7 separate regions of the Homo sapiens genome follow, and all the other regions are linked to region 5. The links are contacts of gene promoters, found by promoter capture Hi-C in human tissues and cell types (Jung and others, 2019). All regions are on one chromosome and are shown on one strand. The core of a region is centred on a gene start or on the middle of the fragment in contact, and the rest is flanking DNA. Distances in the headings are between cores, read along the strand shown. Region 1 overlaps DLG1-AS1 (DLG1 antisense RNA 1). Region 2 holds the start of UBXN7 (UBX domain protein 7). Region 3 overlaps DLG1 (discs large MAGUK scaffold protein 1). Region 4 has its middle 26 kb from the start of UBXN7. Region 5 holds the start of NCBP2 (nuclear cap binding protein subunit 2). Region 6 overlaps RNF168 (ring finger protein 168). Region 7 overlaps RNF168 (ring finger protein 168).

Region 1 (2,700 bases), core at 9-2,508, 360 kb before region 5:
CACCATGTTGGTAAGGCTGGTCTCAAACTCCTGACCTCAAGCAATCCACCTGCCTTGGGCTCCCAAAGTGTTGGGATTACAGGTGTGAGCCACCGCGCCTAGCCACTCTTCTTTTTATTAAGGATGGAGGAACAAGTTTCTCTTTGTTCTAATATTTTTGGAGTCTTTTTCCAAGAGAAAAAAAGAATAGAGATACAGCTTTATTCTGCTCTTTTGAACCCAAGCTTCTCCAAATTATTATGGTAGCATTTCTTATTAAATATTTACTTCTCTCTTATTCTTAAATTGCTTTGTTCATCTTCATTAGTAATTGGTAAAGGCCCATCCCTTTTAAATTTTTGACTCATTGTCTCCTACTCCCTTCGAGCTTGGCTTTGTTTATTCATGTGGTAATTTGCAAGTTGAAATGATATCCAACTTGGGAAAATTTTGCAGGATTTTTAAAAAGCATATTTGGAAAAGTTTCTTCAACTGCCGCCCAATTTATTTATAAAAGGCAGAAGATGCTTTAATCACAAATATTTAATCTCAGTTGATAAAATTGTCTTGGGAAGAAATTAATTTAATCTAAAGAAAATTTAAATAGAAAGCAAGATTTAAATGATTCATTATCGTTACCGTTCTTGTGAGTGTAAAATAGAAGAAAATAATAAAGGAATTTAGGGTTATACAACATGAGGAATAGGAAAATGACAGCCCTAGTGAGTGTCACTTCCCAAAAATGAAAGACTGGCACACAGGTCTTTGTTTTGGAAGGTTGTGGCAGTTTTCCATCCTAAATGAGATTGGTCACTGGACACAGTCCACATATAATTATGAAGAATCTTCTGGCTTCTCCACTTACCAGAATTCTATTCAGGTCATATCTCAGAAATGGAATACAAATGACTTCCTAAAATTCTAATAGCATTTCTTCAAATTCCAATTAAGTTTCCAAGTTTATCTTCTCTACCTACATAAGGATAATCTGACTGAAGGGCCCTGGCCAAAGCCTTCTGTGAACAGACAATGGTCATTCTCTTGGCAGGGGGTGGGGTGAAGAGGTTGTTTCATGTAAGGAGATTTTAGTATAATCCTGAGGATTTCCATATGGGATCCTACGGTTCTGTCAATACCACAAGTTCTTCAAAAGCAGAAAAGCAAATTTGGTTAAACTTAGAAACGTATCTCTAGAAAAGATTACTAATTTCTCCTTACCCCCAGCCCCTTCTCTCTAAAAGAAAGATGGATGGTTCTGGAAATGTCAGTAGCTTTCTGCCATCAGGGAAAAGTCCTCTGATAATTGTGTGCCGACGTTGTCTGGGAGCTCTTCTGGAGCTTACTTTACGTGCTTCTCAAACATGGGGATGGGAGTTGATGGGATCTGAGGGCACTTCCAGTTTGGATGTCCCGTCATCCAGAAAACCTCTCTCATACTTAAGGAAATGAAATGAAGGAGAGAAGGAAGCTACAGGGTATTTTAAATATATACCTTTGCATTAAAAAGAAACCCAAAAAACTCCGAAACAAAAAACCAACCCGTTTAGTTATAACATACCACCAGGGTGCGGATATGCATTTCTTCAAGGCCCTATTTCCATCAAAACTGTCTCCATTGTTAAAGGCATTCAAATATATGACAAGTACACTGTACAACAGACTAGCCCATGACTTGTGCCTTATTTTATCTGAATCTCACTCAGCCTCTCTCTTTTCTCTTTCGCTTAGTCTTTCTCTATCTCTGTCTCTCTCTCACACACATATACACCACTCTGTGCCCAGTGTTTTTTGTTTTGTTTTGTTTAATTTAGAAAAGGAGCCAAGTAGAGAAAAAGCAGCATAGATTAATCGAAGAAACAATGAACTAATGTTCAGCCCAGCTCCAGCCAGCTGTGGGGTCCTAAACCAAGTTATCTCAGTTTCCTCTTCCTCTGTGCTCTCCTTTGCAAAGTGGGAGACCATAACCAACGAGTTTATCTTATCGGTTGCTGTGGACCTGCAGTGAGTTAAATCTGCCTTTGAACACTGTATGAGAGGCTATACCACTCTCCGGATAGACCAGTTTACACGGGAGGCAGTTATTAGTCCTATGCTGATTTAGTACTCCATTATACCACACTCCAGGAATCTTAGGGTGGCTCTTCCATTAAAAAGCATTAATTCAGTGCCTAACTACCTATCATGGAGATGGTCAACTGTCCACATTTTAAAGGGAATTGGTTTCAACCTGTAGCTTTTATTCTGTTAAGAATTATCTATGAGAAAGAGATCAGTCTTGGTACCACCAAAACTGGGTAGAACGAATTCTTGATGTAGACTAAAGGGTGCTAATACCATTTCAGTATTCAGCAGGGACTGAGGTTTCAACAGCTTAGAACTGTGGTCTCAGAGGTCACGTGGTTCAACCTTATGTCCTGGGTATCTACCACCCTCTGACACAGAATCCTTGCTGGCTTCATTCAGCACCTTCCTGATTAAAAAAAAAAAAAAATTTCCACTACCTTGAGGCAGCTCTTTGGAATTTTGGACAGTTTCTGACAACTCATGTTAAGGAAAAACTTCCTGTGTTTGTCCATTGGTTGAATTTTCATCCATTGACTGTACTTGCCCACTGGGTACACAGAATAAGCCTGTTTGATGACTGCAGCTCCCTGGAGACTTCTGTTTTTCCAATGAAATGGCCCTAGATTGTACAGTTGTTTCCTGATTGCTGTGGTTACT
Region 2 (2,700 bases), core at 193-2,692, 510 kb after region 5:
ATTAAAAATACAAAAATTAGCCAGGCGTGGTGGCGTGTGCCTGTAATCCCAGCTACTTGGGAGGCTGAGGCAGGAGAATCGCTTGAACCCGGGAGGCGGAGCTTTCAGTAAACTGAGATTGCACCACTGCACTCCAGCCTGGGCGACAGAGCGAGACTCCCTGTCAAACAAAACAAAACAAAAAACTATACCCCTTGATTTGACATGGCTCTTTCTTAATTCTCCCCAATAGCATGTTTACTCTTAGGATGTGTCAATTCTTCAGACAGCTCATCCCATCTTTTATTGGGCCATTTTCCTATGAAGATGCAAAATATGTGGGTGGAGGTTGGAAGGTGGGAGGCTAAAACAAACGGAATCACTTGGAATCTCTTTTAACTTTATGGGCAAGGTGGGGGATTATTGGATTTGAGCGCACCCCACTCATGTAACTGTTTTGCAAAATACTTAAAATTATTCAAGGAACACACGAATATCTTTTTTTTTTTTTTTTTTTTGAGATGGATTCTTGATATATTTCCCAGTCTGGTCTCGAACTCCTTGCCTCAAGCGATTCTCCCACCTCGGCCTTCCAAAGTGCTGGGATTACAGTCATGAGCCACCGCGCCCGGCCAATAATGTTTGTTTAAAAATAAAAAGATAAATAAGAAACTCGAAGTAAGGTCCGCTTTGACCATCGTCCCGATCGTTCTCTTCTCTGGAGGTAACCGTTACCAGCGTTTTGAGCACACTTTTCCAGTCTCCTTTCTATATGTTTTCTTTCCTCTACTGCATATACAGAGTTTCTTTTTATACAAATGACGCCTCTTGGGGTCTCATTAAGACCCTAACGGGAGACGTGATGGCCAATTTATTTAAGGAAAGCAGACTAAACAATCGTTTATGAAAACCTACTGGGTGGCAACCCCGCGCTAAGTGCTTTCTTTGGCATGAAGGGTTCTGGTATTTCACTCGTCGCAATCGGTTAGCTAAGCCATTAGTTTAGAGGCTGGGGGGCGAGTACGGGGAGAGTCGCTTCAAAGCGAGGAGGTAGGGTTTGCATTTTGATGGGACCTGCAGGAAACCTAATAGAGTGCGGTACAACCGCAAAACAGAAAAATGCTGTCATCGGCAGTTGGCTCTGTCAATAAAGCTTGCGAAGCTGAAATGCGAAGAACTATCTGCCGAGACCGAAGCTTCCTTCGGAATCTAGGAATCGACACCGCGCCTGCGAGGCTAGCCTTGGAGCCCGGAGAGGAAGGCACCAGCAATGGCAAAAAGGATGCACTGAGCAGGCAGCAACCGAGCAGCCAACCCGAGAGCTGGGAGCGCGCGGGCCCGGTCGGAAAATGCGCCTGCGCAGACCGCTGGGGACGGGAGGGGCGGGGCTCGAGGGGCGGTCAATGCGCCTGCGCACACCGCACGGCGAAGTGGGGGAGGGCAGTCCGTGTGTGTCTGTGTTGTTGTTCGGCGGCGGCGGCGGCGGTAAGATGGCTGCCCACGGGGGCTCCGCGGCGTCCTCGGCGCTGAAGGGGTTAATTCAACAGTTCACCACCATTACCGGTAAGAGACGCGGTTACCGGAAGGTGGAGAGTGGGGTCCGGAGCGGGCAGCGGGTCTGCCCCGGGCTTCCCCTTACCTTCAGGCATTCCTCCTTCGGGCTTTACCCACAGCTGCCGTCCTCCCTCCTGAGGAAGAGGCGACGACGGCGTCGGGGTCTCCGGGTTCAGGCGGGAGACAGCCCCCCCCCGCTCCCGATACCCTCGTTCTCTGTCTCCTAGTAGCGTGGAGGGAGATCCCCCAACCCCCCGCCAGCCCAGACCTGGGAATGGGCCGAGTCCGTCCGCCCCCGCCGGCCCGGGGACCCGGGGGCGGGAGGAGTAGGGGGCCGCACCCGGGCCACCGCCCTCCTCCTCCTCCTTCATCATCTTCCCTTCTCTGTGCAGCCCTGCGGTGCGGTGCATCTCCTCACCTCCTTTTTTCCTTTCTTCCCCGGCCAGGTCATTCTGCCCCGGTCCCCGGCCTGCCCTTCCCCTTTCTGGGCCCCTCGGAGCCATCGCCGTGGCCCTGGCGGGTTCGGGCCCTCCCGCCTTCACGGCAAGGCCGGTGGGTTCGGCCGTGCCTTTACACTTCACGGGGGACAGGCCGCCAGAAGCGGGGGGTGCTGAGGAGGACCTCAGGGACTGAGGCTTTGAGGGAAGAATGAGGGGGAACCCCCAAGCTGAATAGGGGAGGCCTGGAAGAATCCAGGGTGGCGTTTCCCACCTCCCCATAATAAAATCATAAAGACGGAGACGATGGCGCCGGGGCCTCCTGCTGATAAGATAGGGATGGCGGCAGAAACTTCTTTGAGAGAAAATCTGTTTCTGGGTGTCGGTATCCCCGAAACCCTAGGCCTAGGTTCTCTCCCTTTGGACCCCTGCGAAGGACACACGCAGATCCTCTTACCGCCTGGAGGAAAGGCCCTAAAGCCATTCTATGAATTCTCTCTGTCTTGTTTCTCTCTGATGGTGCTGAACTTTTCTTGCATGAGTTATTAGAGGGCGGAGCAAATGATGAAGTTCTCTGTGGAGTGATTTGAGAGAAGAGTACTCCAATGTGCCTGAGTGTAATTTTGCCGTTCTAGTTTGTCGTTTTGGAAGGAGGTCAGAATGTTAGTTCCCTCTCAACGGATCTATACTTTATCTCGTAATTTGTTAGATGCGGAGAATGTTTCCACTG
Region 3 (2,700 bases), core at 131-2,630, 290 kb before region 5:
TTTTTTTCAGCGTGAAGAACTTCTTTAACATTTCTTGAAATGCATTTCTTCTGGTGATGAATTCTCTCAGCTGTTGTTTACTTGAAAGAAGTATTTTTATTTTGTCTTTTTTTTAATTTTTGAGACAGGATCTCACTCTGTTGCCCAGGATGGAGTGCAGTGGTGCCATCTCAGCTCACTGGAACCTTTTCCTCCCAGGCTTAAGTGATCCTCCTGCTTCAGCCTCCCAAGTAGCTGGAACTACAGGCATGCCCCACCACACCCAGCTGATTTTTTACTTTTTGTAGAGACGGGATTTCGCCATGTTGCTCATGCCACTCTTGAACTCCTGGTCTCAAGCAGTCTGCCTACCTTGGGCTCCCAGAGTACTGGGATTACAGGCATGAGCCACCATGACTAGCCTGCCTTTATTTTTGAATGATAGTTTTGATGAAAAAAATTCTGGGTTGACAGGTTTTTTTTCCCAGCACGTTTAAAACCTCATTCCATTTGGTATGTTTTTATTGGTTCCATTTCTGTCATGATATTCATGTTTTCCTTTAAGTCCTTGAGCATACTTAAGTTTTATGAGTGTTTTTGAGTTTTTATCTGCTAATTCTGTCATTTTGCATTTCTAAGTCTATTATGAACTGGCTTTCCTCCTCTGATGGCTCACAGTTTTCTGCTTCTTTGCATATCTGGTTATTTTTCATTGGATCCCAGACATTGTGAATGTAATTGAGTGTTCCTAAGTACTGTTTTCTCTGGAAAATACTGTTGTTTGTTTTGGAAGGCAATTAAGTCATTTGCAGATAAGGTTGATCAGTTCAAGACTTTTTAAAGCTTTTTAAAAGTTGGATCTCAAGTAGCCTTTTCTTTAAGGCCAGCTTAGCCTTAATGCTAAGGCTTGACTGTCTAGGAGTGTCCACTGATTACTACAAGTGTTTATTGAGGCCCCTCTGCTCTGTATAAGTTTGAACACTCCTCAGCTTACTGTGAGCTCTGAAGCTTGTTTATAAGTCCCTTACAGTTTTATTTGCCTGGCCTTGTTGAATTTTATGCTGTTCACGTGTTGATTAGTATTCAGACTGAAGTCTCAAGGGTACTCACTATTTGATTTCTGGAGCTCTTTTTCTGCTTAGCCTTCTTCTTTCCAGTATTCTGCCTTGCACATTCCAGTGCTTCCGTCTCCTTGAACACCAGTCTTGATTTTTGTCAACCCAGTAAGATGGCTGTATTGGCTTGGGTTTCTCCATCATGTGTCAAGTTCCAAAAAATGGCCTCCAGGCAGGAAGCCAGGAAGATCGTAGAGCTCACTTTGTTTTCCTTCTCTCAGGTATTGTAGTCCTGTACTGCTTGTTGTCCAGTGCTGAAAACTGTTGTGGCATGTATTTTTTTTCTAGTTTTCTAGTTGTTTTAAGGCAGAAGGTCAAGTTCTGTACCAGTTAACTTCTTCATGGCCTGACGTAGAAGTTTTTTCATATTTTGTTTATTTAGATCCTGTTTAATTTCACAATAGATTTAAGCTGGTTACTCTGGAATAGAAACTACTACTTCAGTAGTTTCCTTAAAAAACATAACTTTTGACGTGACTTTTTGGGATGAGGGAGATACAATGTATGTTCATTGTAGAGTTTAGAAATACACAAAAATGAACCTAAGTCTCATGTAAACTCAGACTCCATATCTTACCTCTATTAACATTTTTCTGTGTTCTAGTCATTTTTCTGTGATTATATATATAACCCCTTTTATACATAATTACGGGGCATAAACAGACATACAGCCCTCTTTCTTTGTTCCCCCAGTTTGTATTGTGTTTTTGTTTGTTTGTTTTGCTAAAAGGCAAAATTTTAGTCCAAGGTTAGTTTTTCATGTTATTACATGTTCTTTAAAACTATGCTTGTCTGTCCATATTATAATGGCAGTTTAAGATTTCACAACAGGAATATATCATCATTTATTTAGAGAATGTGGGATTGATTAGACATTTTTATTCTTTTCAAAAGTAAGATCTCCAGTCAGTTAAAACTCTACTCCTAAATTCATCCATTATACTTTTTGGAAATGTTTTGTCCTTGTTTTATCCATTTCCTCCTCCCTGAGAAAAGCATTCTGCATTGAAATTTTACACTCAATTTGGTTTGAGAACTGTGCTTTGCTTTTCTTAATTGGATCATCTGGGGTTGTAAGCCTGTCTGTGTATTAGAACTGGACAGGGAGCTCGTTAAAAATAAAGATCGTTAGGCTTAAATTAGACTAAATACCTGGGAATCTTCTTTGGATATCTCACCATTTGGGAACCACTGTTCAAAACCTTATCTCTGGTATTCTAGGTTTCCTTAAAGACTGTGTGTTGATTGGCTTAGTAGGACATAAGATGAGACTCATTGGCGCTCAGCCACAGCCTCTTTGTGTTCATCTATTTCGTTTTTTGGGGACTTCCACCTAAGATGCTGTTTCAAAGAAGTTTTATGCTAGAAGCAAATGTGTTTACCATGGATATTGTTTATCAGAGCTCCGCTTCCAGTGTATAATGGATGGATTTCTTTAGTTTCCTTGAACATGGAGAAGCCTGAAGCAAACTGTATGAGATAGGAGTCATGGCTTGTAGAAGCTTACATAAAACCTTTAAGGCTGGGCACGGTGGCTTACGCCTGTAATCCCAGCACTTTGGGAAGCTGAGGTGGGCAGATCACTTGAGGTCAGGAGTTCAAGACC
Region 4 (2,700 bases), core at 115-2,614, 480 kb after region 5:
CTCAAAAAAAAAAAAAAAAAAAAAGTAGCCCCCTTTTCCTTTCCTCCTTCCTAGAACCGCTTATTGATAGAACTTTACAAGAAGCCAACTGGCAAAGGAGTCTGGGCAAATGGTTTTTATATCAGCAGAGTTTAGAATGGCAGGCTTGACGCTGCAAGACAAGAGGGGGAAAGAAAACACACCAGAGATGTTTTCCTTTAATAGATTCTGGACTAAGGTGTCTTGAAACGTCTAAGGCAAAAACCTATAACGCTCCTATCTAGACAAGATGGGTGTTAGTATGTGTGGAAAAATGATGCTTATCCACAAATTCCCAGGAGAAGTTAAGCCTCATGAAGGATCTATAGGAGAAAACTGGAGAACCTTTATTTTCATTTATTTTATGTTTTTGAGATGGAGTCTTGCTTTGTCACCCAGGCTGGAGTGCAGTGGCATGATCTCGGCTCACTGCAACCTCTGCCTCCCAGGTTCAAGTGACTCTCCTGCCTCAGCCTCCTGAGTAGCTGGAACTACAGGCGCTCACCACCATGCCCAGCTAATTTTTGTATTTTTAGTAGAGACGGGGTTCCACCATGTTGGCCAGGCTGGTCTCGAACTCCTGACCTCAAGTGATCCACCCGCCTCGGCCTCCCAAAGTGCTGGGATTACCAGCATGAGCCACCGTGCCCGGCCACCTAGAGAACCTTTAAGTACCTGCAGAAAGCACTTCCAATTCTTTAGTTTTTGTTGTTGTTGTTGTTCTGATTATGTCCAGAGCTGATGATTCAGAGAATAAGATTGTGTCTGCCATCCCCATACACAAACGGGTGGTCACCTAAAGCTACCATTGTCCCATTTTCCTATGCCCCTACAAGCCCTACAAATCCCACAATTCCTCACCTACCAGGTGAACCCTCTTTGAAATTTCCTCCATAGGAAATTAAGCCATCAGACATCATCACTAAATTCCCAGAGCTCCTAGAAGGATACAATCCAGAAATAATAGAACACCAGGATAAGATTTGATCTTTTTTTTTTTCCCAGGCTGGAGTGCAGCGGTACAATCTCGGCTCACTGTAACCTCTGCCTCCTAGGTTCAAGCGATTCTCCTGCCTCAGCCTCCAGAGTAGCTGGGATTACAGGCGCGTGCCACCACGCCTGGCTAATTTTTGTATTTTTAGTAAACATGGGATTTCATCATATTGGCCAGGCTGGTCTTGAACTCCTTACCTCAGGTGATCCACCCACCTCAGCTTCCCAAACTGCTGGGATTACAGGCGTGAGCCACTGTGCCCAGCCTGATCTGTCTATTAAAAGGAGGGCATTTGCCAGGCACAGTGTCTCACGCCTGTAATCCCAGCACTTTGGGAGGCCGAGGTGGGCAGATCATGAGGTCAAGAGATCGAGACCATCCTGGCCAACATGGTGAAACCCCGTCTCTACTAAAAATACAAAAATTAGCCAGGCATGATGGCAGGTGCCTGTAGTCCCAGCTACTTGGGAGGCTGAGGCAGGAGAATCGCCTGAACCTGGGAGGTGGAGGTTGCAGTGAACCGAGATCACACCATTGCACTCCAGTCTGGGCGACACAGCAAGACTCCATCTCAAAAAAAAAAAAAAAAAAAAAAAGGAGGGCATTGGAATTAATTAAAAATAGATCATAATGAAGTAACTCTCCAGAGTAAACCTACATTACAACAAATCAAGAGAGGGGAGTTGTGTAACAATCCTAGCAAGAGGCACTGACATGATATTAAATCAACTTGGTTTTAACATGTGAGAGAACCTTTCCACCCACAAAGAGCTCGAGGTGCTGTAATTTGTACAACACTATTATCAGTTTATTGACTTGAAAACGGTGCTTAAAAATCTCAGAATCTCAAGAATAACTTCTGGAAAAGCATCTTATAAACAAAAAAAAAATGAATTGATTCCTTCTACTGGCAAATGCTTAGAAAACATTTTAAATCTTTTATTTGGATAAAGCTAAAAATACATGAATTTAGCTAGTTTGATTTTAGAAGACTTTAACTTTTTAAACTAATAGTACTTTTTATTTGTTTTTTACTTGCCAAGCATTGGGCGCAAACCAGTAGTACTTTTTAAAGCATGATCTTAAAAACAAATTTTCCTTTGGGGCTGAGAAGAATAGGTCACAGTCTGAAAAAAAGATGAGGGCTAATTATCTCAGACTTAGGTCTTTAGAGGAGGAAGTGGCAATTTTAATGTTATGTAATAGCAAAAACCCTAAGTTTCTAAGGCAACCAAAAAGGTTCTGAACTAACCACTGCTCTTTTCTTTGGCTTTAAAAAATCATTCGTGGCCAGGCCCGGTGGCTCACGGCTGTAATTGCAGCACTTTGGGAGGCTGAGGCAGGCAGATCACCTGAGGTCAGGAGTTCGAGGCCAGCCTGGCCAACATGGAGAAACCCTGTCTCTACTAAAAATACATTAGCTGGGTATGGTGGTGCACACCTGTAATCCTAGCTATTCGGGAGGCTGAGGCAGGAGAATCGCTTGAACCCGGGAGGCAGAGGTTGCAGTGAGCTGAGATTGTACCACTGCATTCCAGCCTGGGCAACAGACCAAAACCTCTGTTTCAAAAAAAAAAAAAAAAAAAAAAGAGAAAACATTTATTATGAATGGGGTTGAGGTTAGGTTTTTGTCCCCCAGTGTTCTGAGCCATTTGTAATTATTTGAGTTATTTTCCTATTTTTCTATT
Region 5 (2,700 bases), core at 199-2,698:
CTCAGGCTCATGCGATCCTCCTGCCTCTGCAGTGGCTGGGATAAGACACAACTGCCACCAGGCCCTGCCCCTAGGCAGTAGTCTTAATGCCTGATGGTGGGGGGTTGGGGAAGGAAGGGGTTGAGTATCAGGGTAAATGCTGCAGAGCTGTGTTAAGGACTTAGGCCCTGGAGTCAAATGCCTCTGCTCACATCCCACTCTGCAAGACTTTGGGCAACTTAAGCAGCAGCCTCTGTTTCCATCGCAGTGGCTCTTGCCTATAATCCCAGCACTTTGGGAGGCTGAGGCGGGAGGATCACTTGCGCCCAAGAGTTCGAGACCACCCCATCTCTACAAAAAAATCCAAAAAGTAATCTGCTTCCTCATGTGAATGTCGTTGTAAGGAGTGAGATAACACATAGAGTGCAATGAGCAAGTCCCAGCACAGAAGACTCATTTCATAAAATACGTGTTTATTATTACCATAGGCCTACAGTCCCCGGTATTCTTAACACATCTTGCCTGAGAAGTATCACACTCATGCCTATCAACCAGCTCACACATTTAATCAAAGGAATTTGGCAGCTGTAGGGTTGTCTTTTCATCCATATCGTCCCTGGAATTAACTGTCCTGCTATACCAGTCAGATTGAGCAGCATCTGTCAAGAGTTTCAGTCCCACTTGCAGAGGAAAGGCTCTCTGGCTTCGGTCCGTGGCTCTCCGTAGGTGCCGTGTCTGGACCCAGCCTACCTTCATCTCTGTTAGGCTTAGGGCTGTCTCCACACTGTGTCTTGTCCAATCACAAGACTTCAACGGAGCGGGCGGTCTGGCCTAGGCTCTTATGCGTGGGATGTCTGCAGGCCAACAATCCCAGTCGGGATTCGAAGCCGCGCGCAGTGCCCGGAATGACCCCTCCACATTGATGCCACTGTAGAGCCCGGAAGGAAAAGCAAGCGGCCTCGGCCCCGCACAGCCCAGGATTAAATGTTTGCGCCAGGGCCCCTCTGGCTACCTGGTGGTGGCCCCGAGCGGCCTCGGAGGCCGCGGCGTAGCTCCTGGGTGAAGGCGTCTCTAAATCGCTCAGCGCGGCGGCACAGGGAGCCCACGGGCCCAGCCGCGAGGTCCTGCAGGCGGCGGGCCGCGTCCTGGCCCCGCAGCTGGGCCTGCAGCAGTGCGAAGGCCGTGAGCTGCGCCGCACGTCGGATAGGCCGCGACTCTGACAGACGTTCCACCAGCTGCGGGCTGTGCAGCAGGGCGGCCAGCAGCCGCCGCAGCACCATCTTCTCCAAGCGCCCGGAACCCGACCTCGCCGCCCTCGTCTTCCGCCCCGCGGCGCCCGACCCGGACGTCTATGCCCCCGCGCAGCTTGATGACGACACGCCGCCCTCGGATTGGGTCCAATGAGATGCTCGCCTCCGCGCGTTTCCGCTTCCGCCATCGCGGACGCAGCCTCGTGCCGGGAGTCGCCGCATTGTGGTCCGCTTCTCTGCACTATGTCGGGTGGCCTCCTGAAGGCGCTGCGCAGCGACTCCTACGTGGAGCTGAGCCAGTACCGGGACCAGCACTTCCGGGTGAGGGAGGCCGGGCCGCGAGACGGGAAGGCCCTGGGCAAGAACGCTGAGAAACGGTTTGCTCTTGTCTCATTGTGTCGCCTCCCATTCAGCTGAAATCCGCAAACGCCAAGTGGGGCCCCGGTGCCTGCTGGCGAGGCAGGGAATGGGTGCTGGAAGGGCGCTTGGATATCACTGAAGCCACTTGCTCTGGAAGACGGGGAACTGGAGGCTCGCTTATCCCATTCGCTCGCAGCCGCTCCCTGTACCCCAGCCAGTGCCGAGAGGTTTGAGCGGTGGTGGTGGTGGCGGCTCCCGTTTCCACGGTTGTGCCTCCGCAGACGACTACGTAGCAAGGGGGAGGGGTGCCCTTCTCTCTCCCAGAGTAGGCAGAGGCGCCTTCCTGATGCAGATGCGGGGCTTTTTGCTTTGTTTTTTAAATCGGCGAAGCAGTGCCCTTCGGCGATTCGGGCCCCTTCTCTGGGAGGATGGTGTTACGGAAGCTGTACGCGGTGCGTGGGAGACACAAGTGGAGTCCTCACTCCGCCCTCGGGGAAGCTTCGGAGTGGGGAGGTGGACCCGCCAAGCTCGGCACTTTGAGGGTGTTCGGATGTAAAGATCGGAGAATTGCTGGATTTCAGAAGAGGGAAATTTTTAGTCCGGACTATATCACAGTATATTTTGTGGAAAAAGGGGAGGCAGCAGATATTCAAAGTAGACTTTTCAGTATCAGCGGAGGTAGGGATGGAATACGGTTGGGGGTTGGCGGGGCGGGACTCATTAACCCAATTATTTAGTAAACGTTTATCGAGTGCTGTCGCCAAATCCTTGTGCTAAACCCTAGAGGGAGAGGGAAGACAGTTTCTGCGCTCTGCGAGCTCATAATCCCCTGTAGTGAGGATTCAGAAAAGGGAAAAATCCCCTTGTGACTGGGAAAGGAAGGGGCGCATATAGCAGAGGGTAAGTGTGGAGAATGTGTGAAATGTGTTACTAGAGTAGGGAAAGGGAAATTTTGTTTGACGCTAAATTAGGGAAGCTCTTAGATTTATTTAGTCAAGGCTGGGAACGGTGGCTCACGCCTGTAATCCCAGCACTTTGGGAGGCTGAGGCGGGTGGATCACGAGGTTAGGAGTTCAAGACTAGCCTGGCCAAGATGGTGAAACCCCGTCTT
Region 6 (2,700 bases), core at 112-2,611, 440 kb after region 5:
GTTGTGGGCATTCTCCTGCCTCAGCCTCCTGAGTAGCTGGGATTACAGGCATGCGACACCACACCCAACTAATTTTTGTATTGTTAGTAGAGATGGGGTTTTGCTGTGTTGGTCAGGATGGTCTCAATCTCTTGACCTCGTGATCCACCTGTCTTGGCCTCCAAAAGTGCTGGGATTACAAGCGTGAGCCACCGCGTCCGGGCTGTTTTAGTTTTTATCCACCATAGATGAGTTTTTTCTGTTCTGGAACTTCATATAAATGGAATTCTTTTTATTTCCTAGGGCTACTGTAACAAAGTACCACGAACTTAGCAGAAATTTATTCTCCCTCAGTTCTGAAGAGTAGAACTCCAAACCCAAGATGCTAGCAGGGAGCAGGGACATGTACATTGAAGGCTCTGGGAGAGAATCTGTTCCGTGCCCTTCTCCTTAGCTTCTGGTGTGGCTGGAATCCATGGTGTTCCTGGTTTGCAGCTGAGTCACTCCAGTCTCTGCCTCCATTGGCACGTAGAGTTTCCCGGTGTGTCTGTCTTTACATGGCCGTCTCCTCTGTGTCTCTCTCTTTTTTTTTTACCAGGACACTAGTTATATTGGATTAAAGGCTCTGTACTCTTTGTATGAACTCCATTATATCTGTAACAACCTGTTTCCAGTTAAGACCACATTCTTAGTTACTGGGAGTTAGGACTTAAGCATATCTTTTGGGGGGTTATTCAGCATAAGGTTCAAGATTTATTCTTTTTTTTTTTTTGAGACAGTCTTGTTCTGTCACCCAGTCTGGAATGCAGTGACAGGATCTCGGCTCACTGCAACCTCCGTCTCCTGGGTTCAAGTGATTCTCCTGCCTCAGCCTCCTAAGTAGCTGGGATTACAGGCACGCACCACCATGCCTGGCTAATTTTTGTATTTTTAGTAGAGATGGGGTTTCACCATGTTGCCCAGCCTGGTGTCGAACTCCTGACCTCAGGTGATCCACCCGCCTCGGCCTCCCAAAGTGCTGGGATTACAGGCATGAGCCACCGCGCCTGGCCTCAAGATTTATTCTTGTGTAGATATTCGTTTTTTAAGTATTATTCCACCATTGACTATGCTGTATATGATTGGCCATTCTCCACTGATACAGTGCTTCAGTTGCTTGCAGTTTTGGATATTATGAATAAAGTTGCTGAGAAGGTTCTTGTGCAAGTTTTTGTGTCTCTGTGTGTGTATGTGTGGCCTTATGTTTTCAGGGTTTTTTTGGTTAAATACTTAGGAGCTGGAATTACGCAACGTAGAATAGGTACATATTTTTATAAGAAACTACCTGCCAGGCATGGTGGCTCACGCACTTTGGGAGGCCGAGGCGGGTGGATCACAAGGTCAGGAGTTCAAGACCAGCCTGGCCAAGATGCTGAAACCCCATCTACTAAAAATACAAAAATTAGCCGGGTGTGGTGGCGGGCACCTGTAATACCAGCCACTCGGGAGGCTGAGGCAGAGAATTGCTTGAACCCAGGAGGCAGAGGTTGCAGTGAGCCTAGATCGCGCCACTGCACTCTAGCCTCGGTGACAGAGTGAGACTCCATCTCAAAAAAAGAAAGAAGAAACTACCAGATCTTTTTCGAAAGTGGTTGTGTCATTTTGTAATCCCACCAACAGCATACAGGTTCTGGTTGCCGTACATCTTACCAACTTTTGATGTTATCTGTCTTTTTAGATTTAACCATTCCAGTTGATTTGTATTGATAGTAGTATCTTGTTTTAATTTCAATTTCCAGGTAACTAATGATAGTGTTCTTTTTCATGTGCTTATTGACAGTTTTGCCCTCTTCCATTGTAAAGTGTCTGTTTAATTCTTTTTCCCCTAAATTGTTTATATTCAGTTGTAGACATTATTTATGTATTTTGAATACTGGTACTTTGCCAGATATTCTTAATTGTTTTGACGAGCTGAAATTCTTAATTTTCATGAAGTCTCATAAATTTTTCCTTTTATAGTTTATTGCTTTTTATGGTCTAAGAAACCTTTAGCTACCTTCAGGCTAAGATATTGCTATTTTTTTTTCTAAAAGATTTATAGTTTTACCTTTTTTTTTTGGAGACTGAATTTCGTTGTGTCGCCCAGGCTGGAGTGCAGTGGCGTGATGGCTCACTGCAACCTCCACCTCCCAGGTTCAAGCGATTCTCCTCCCTCAGCCTCCTGAGTAGCTGGGACTACAGGCACGCACCACCATGCCTGGCTAATTTTTGTATTTTTTGTAGAGATGGGGCTTCACCATGTTGGCCAGGCTGGTCTTGAAGTCCTGACCTCGTGATCCGCCTGCCTTGGCCTCCCAAAGTGCGAGGATTACAGGTGTGAGCCACTGTGTCTGGCCAGTTTTAACTTTTATGTTTAGGTCTTTGATCCATTTCAAATTAATTTTGAATATTGTATAAGTTAGGGGGTTGAGGTTAACTTTTTCCCATATGGGTATCAGTTATTTCTGTACCTTTTGTTGAAAAGACTTTTTAAAAAAAATAATGTGGGTCTATTCTATTTCATTGATCCGTTGATTCTAATATTAGTGTCACACTGTCTTGATTACTGTGACTTTAGAGTAAATCTTTTTTTTTCTTTTTGAGACAGAGTCTTGCTCTGTTGCCTAGGCTGGAGTGCAGTGGCGTGATCTCAGCTCACTACATCCTCTGCCTCCCAGGTTCAAGCAGTTCTCCTTCCTCAGC
Region 7 (2,700 bases), core at 164-2,663, 460 kb after region 5:
GGCTCACACCTGTAATCCCAGCACTTTGGGAGGCCGAGGCGGGTGGATCACCTGAGGTCAGGAGTTCAAGACCAGCCTGGCCAACATGGCGAAACCCCATCTCTACTAAAAATACAAAAATTAGCCGGGTGTGGTGGCGAGCACCTGTAATCCCAGCTACTCGGGAGGCTGAGGCAGAGAGAATTGCTTAAAACTCAGGAGGTGGAGGTTGCAGTGAGCTGAGACTGCACCACTGCACTCCAACCTGGGCAATAGAGTGAGACGCCGTCTCAAAAAAAAATAAATAAAATAATGGCCAGGTGCGGTGGCTCACACCTGTAATCCTAACACTTTGGGAAGCCGAGGTGGGTGGATCACCTGAGGTCAGGAGTTCAAGACCAGCCTGGCTGTCCTGTCTCTACCAAAAATACAATACTTCTGAGGTCAGGCATTCGAGATCAGCCTGTCTCTACCAAAAATACAAAAATTCGCTGGGCATGGTGGTGCATGCCTGTAATCCCAGCTACTTGGGAGGCTGAGGCAGGAGAGTTGCTTAAACCCGGGAGGCAGAGGTTGCAGTGAGCAGAGATTGTGCCATTGTACTTCAGTCTGGGCGATAGAGTGAGACTCTGTCCCCCAAAAAATAAAATAACTAAAATAAACAAAATCAAAAAGAGTGTGTATTTCATAGAAATCATATTTTTAAAAAATTGGTTACATATGTTAAAAGGAGAACCTTAGACAAATTAACAGAGTTTAATTGAGCAAAGGACAATTCACAAATTGGGCAGCCTCTCGAGCCAGAGTAGGCCGAGAGCGACTCCCGTGGAGCCACATGTCGGAAGAAGATTAACAGACAGAAAAGGGAACGTGATGTATGGAAAGCAGAAATGAGGGGCAGAGACAGCCAGAGTGGTTACAGTTTGGCATTTGCCTTATTTGAACATGATTTGAACAGTTGGCCCCCTTTGGCCAAAGCTTGGTGACTGGCACAAGAGTAGTTTACAGGCTGTTCACACCTCCCTTTAGGCTGTAGTTCACTATATACAGAGAAATCTTTGGGCTGAACTTAAAATACGTAAGGAGGCAGCTTTAGGCTAAACTTAATTTAAAACATAAAAGGAAGCAAATGGGAATGGATCCCAAAAATTCAGACTCAAGGAAAAAAGAAAAAAAAAAGTTCTTAAAACATGGGAAGGGAAAGGGTTGATGACATATATTTCCTGTATTTCTGTTTTGTTTAAGAGACAGGGTCTCACTGTTACCCAGGCCACAGTGGCAAGAAAATAGCTCACTGCAGCCTCAAACTCTTGGGCTCAAGCGATCCTCCCACCTCAGCCTTCAGAGTAGCTGGGACTATAGGCACACACCATTATGTCCAGCTAATTTTTCTTTTTAATTTTTTGTAGAGATGGGTCTTGCTGTGTTGTCCAGTTTTCGGACTCCTGGCCTCAAACGATCCTCCCACCTCAGCCTCCCAAAGTGTTAGAATTACAGGCATGAACCACCACGGCCAGTTCTGCTTATTTTCAGAATGAGCATGTATTCATATATTACTTGGTTATTATAAATAAGGAATATCCAAGAGAGTTAATGAATCTTCAGTGATTGTGTTGGATAAGTAATAACATTCTGTTCTCTGCTTATGAACGTCAAAACAACTGTTATAACAGTGATACTTTGGTACTGGTATGCTTCGTAAGTAGTGGTCCCGCATCAGCATTGACAGAAAGAATTCTTCAGCCTAAAGAAACTAAATGAGACTAAGCTTCTTTTCAACTGAAAATTTGGTTCTTGTTCTTCAAAGTTAACAGAGTAAATATATAGATTGATATAACTAAATATATGGGTTAGGTACTCTTGTTTGCCCATAAGGAATATTCATTAGTTCTTTATATGAGATCTTTGTTTAGGTTTGATTGTTCCATATGCTACTTGTTGGTGCTTTTGACACAGTGTAACTTATGGATTTGTCTGTTATTTATAGTCACTTTTTTTCTCTAATTCTAAAAGCCATGGCTAGCTGCTCTTTGAAAATCACCCAAAGTTTCCACCATTTGGAGACAACCAACATTTTGGGAAATTTCTGCCATTTGTAAACATAGTTATATGCATGTTTGGATATTTTACAATTTTTAAACTATACCTACCATCTTGTAGCCTGCCTTTTCTATTCCCCGTTCTTTTATAACATTTTCCATTCTATTAAAACCGTAGTGTTTTCAGTGGCAAACAGCCTGTTATATTGAAGATTCTTAGAAATGTAAAGATATGACCAGGTGCAGTGGCTCACGCCTGTAATCCCAACACTTAGGGAGGCCGAGGCAGGCGGATCACCTGAGGTCAAGAGATTGAGACCATCCAGGCCAACGTGGTGAAACCCTGTCTCTATTAAAAATACAAAAATTAGCAGGGCATGGTGGCGTGTGCCTGTAGTCCCAGCTACTCAGGAGGCTGAGGCAGGAGAATCACTTGAACCCGGGAGGCGGAGGTTGCAGTGAGCCAAGATCATGTCACGGCACTCCAGCCTGGCGACAGAGTGAGACTCTGTCTCAAAAAAAAAGAAAGAAATGTAAAGATATGTGTTTCTAAGAAGAGAGTTGAGGGCCAGGCACGGTGGCTCACGCATGTTATCCCAGCACTTTGGGAGGCCGAAGCAGGCGGATCACCTGAGGTCAGGACTTCGAGACCAGCCTGGCCAACATGGTGAAACCCCGTCTC

Evidence for each region. The method cuts DNA at HindIII sites, captures the fragments that hold promoters and counts their contacts. A contact is called where the count stands out against the background at its distance.
Region 1: a contact is called between a fragment that was not itself captured here and the fragment with the promoter of NCBP2 in region 5, in 1 of the 25 tissues and cell types used here (lymphoblastoid cells).
Region 2: a contact is called between the fragment with the promoter of UBXN7 here and the fragment with the promoter of NCBP2 in region 5, in 1 of the 25 tissues and cell types used here (dorsolateral prefrontal cortex).
Region 3: a contact is called between a fragment that was not itself captured here and the fragment with the promoter of NCBP2 in region 5, in 4 of the 25 tissues and cell types used here (dorsolateral prefrontal cortex, lymphoblastoid cells, mesenchymal stem cells and 1 more).
Region 4: a fragment that was not itself captured here is called in contact with the fragment with the promoter of NCBP2 in region 5 in 1 of the 25 tissues and cell types used here (hippocampus).
Region 6: a contact is called between a fragment that was not itself captured here and the fragment with the promoter of NCBP2 in region 5, in 1 of the 25 tissues and cell types used here (dorsolateral prefrontal cortex).
Region 7: a fragment that was not itself captured here is called in contact with the fragment with the promoter of NCBP2 in region 5 in 2 of the 25 tissues and cell types used here (H1 embryonic stem cells and dorsolateral prefrontal cortex).

Annotation. Positions count from the first base shown.
Region 1 is chr3:197,302,818-197,305,517 of GRCh38, reverse strand. DLG1-AS1 (DLG1 antisense RNA 1) reads right to left here. Exons shown (of 3, transcript NR_038289.1): 3 at 1,767-2,700. Among named protein-coding and RNA genes, the nearest start is that of DLG1, 5.6 kb to the right of the region's middle. The HindIII fragment of the contact is 5,403 bases long and covers 1-2,700 here.
Region 2 is chr3:196,431,169-196,433,868 of GRCh38, reverse strand. UBXN7 (UBX domain protein 7) reads left to right here and starts at 1,442. Exons shown (of 11, transcript NM_015562.2): 1 at 1,442-1,542. The coding sequence starts at 1,470. UBXN7-AS1 (UBXN7 antisense RNA 1) reads right to left here and starts at 2,484. Exons shown (of 2, transcript NR_046745.1): 1 at 2,428-2,484; 2 at 835-1,667. RefSeq lists enhancers at 1,125-1,204, 1,137-1,910, 2,285-2,334, 1,911-2,685 and silencers at 1,245-1,494, 1,515-1,574. The HindIII fragment of the contact is 10,299 bases long and covers 42-2,700 here.
Region 3 is chr3:197,233,734-197,236,433 of GRCh38, reverse strand. The region is part of intron 4 of DLG1 (discs large MAGUK scaffold protein 1); the gene reads left to right. Among named protein-coding and RNA genes, the nearest start is that of MIR4797, 59 kb to the left of the region's middle. The HindIII fragment of the contact is 3,494 bases long and covers 1-2,700 here.
Region 4 is chr3:196,457,290-196,459,989 of GRCh38, reverse strand. No RefSeq gene overlaps it. Among named protein-coding and RNA genes, the nearest start is that of UBXN7, 26 kb to the right of the region's middle. The HindIII fragment of the contact is 8,617 bases long and covers 1-2,700 here.
Region 5 is chr3:196,941,276-196,943,975 of GRCh38, reverse strand. NCBP2 (nuclear cap binding protein subunit 2) reads left to right here and starts at 1,448. Exons shown (of 4, transcript NM_007362.5): 1 at 1,448-1,550. The coding sequence starts at 1,473. NCBP2AS2 (NCBP2 antisense 2 (head to head)) reads right to left here and starts at 1,302. Exons shown (of 1, transcript NM_001355243.2): 1 at 433-1,302. The coding sequence starts at 1,259. The coding sequence ends at 960. NCBP2-AS1 (NCBP2 antisense RNA 1) reads right to left here. Exons shown (of 3, transcript NR_046630.1): 3 at 1,442-1,583. RefSeq lists enhancers at 845-1,004, 769-1,442, 1,225-1,524, 1,575-1,714, 1,745-1,984 and 2 more. The HindIII fragment of the contact is 10,051 bases long and covers 1-2,700 here.
Region 6 is chr3:196,497,044-196,499,743 of GRCh38, reverse strand. All of the region lies in intron 1 of RNF168 (ring finger protein 168), which reads left to right. All of the region lies in intron 1 of LOC105374306 (a long non-coding RNA gene), which reads left to right. Among named protein-coding and RNA genes, the nearest start is that of RNF168, 5.4 kb to the left of the region's middle. The HindIII fragment of the contact is 8,083 bases long and covers 1-2,700 here.
Region 7 is chr3:196,476,600-196,479,299 of GRCh38, reverse strand. All of the region lies in intron 4 of RNF168 (ring finger protein 168), which reads left to right. Among named protein-coding and RNA genes, the nearest start is that of RNF168, 26 kb to the left of the region's middle. The HindIII fragment of the contact is 5,717 bases long and covers 1-2,700 here.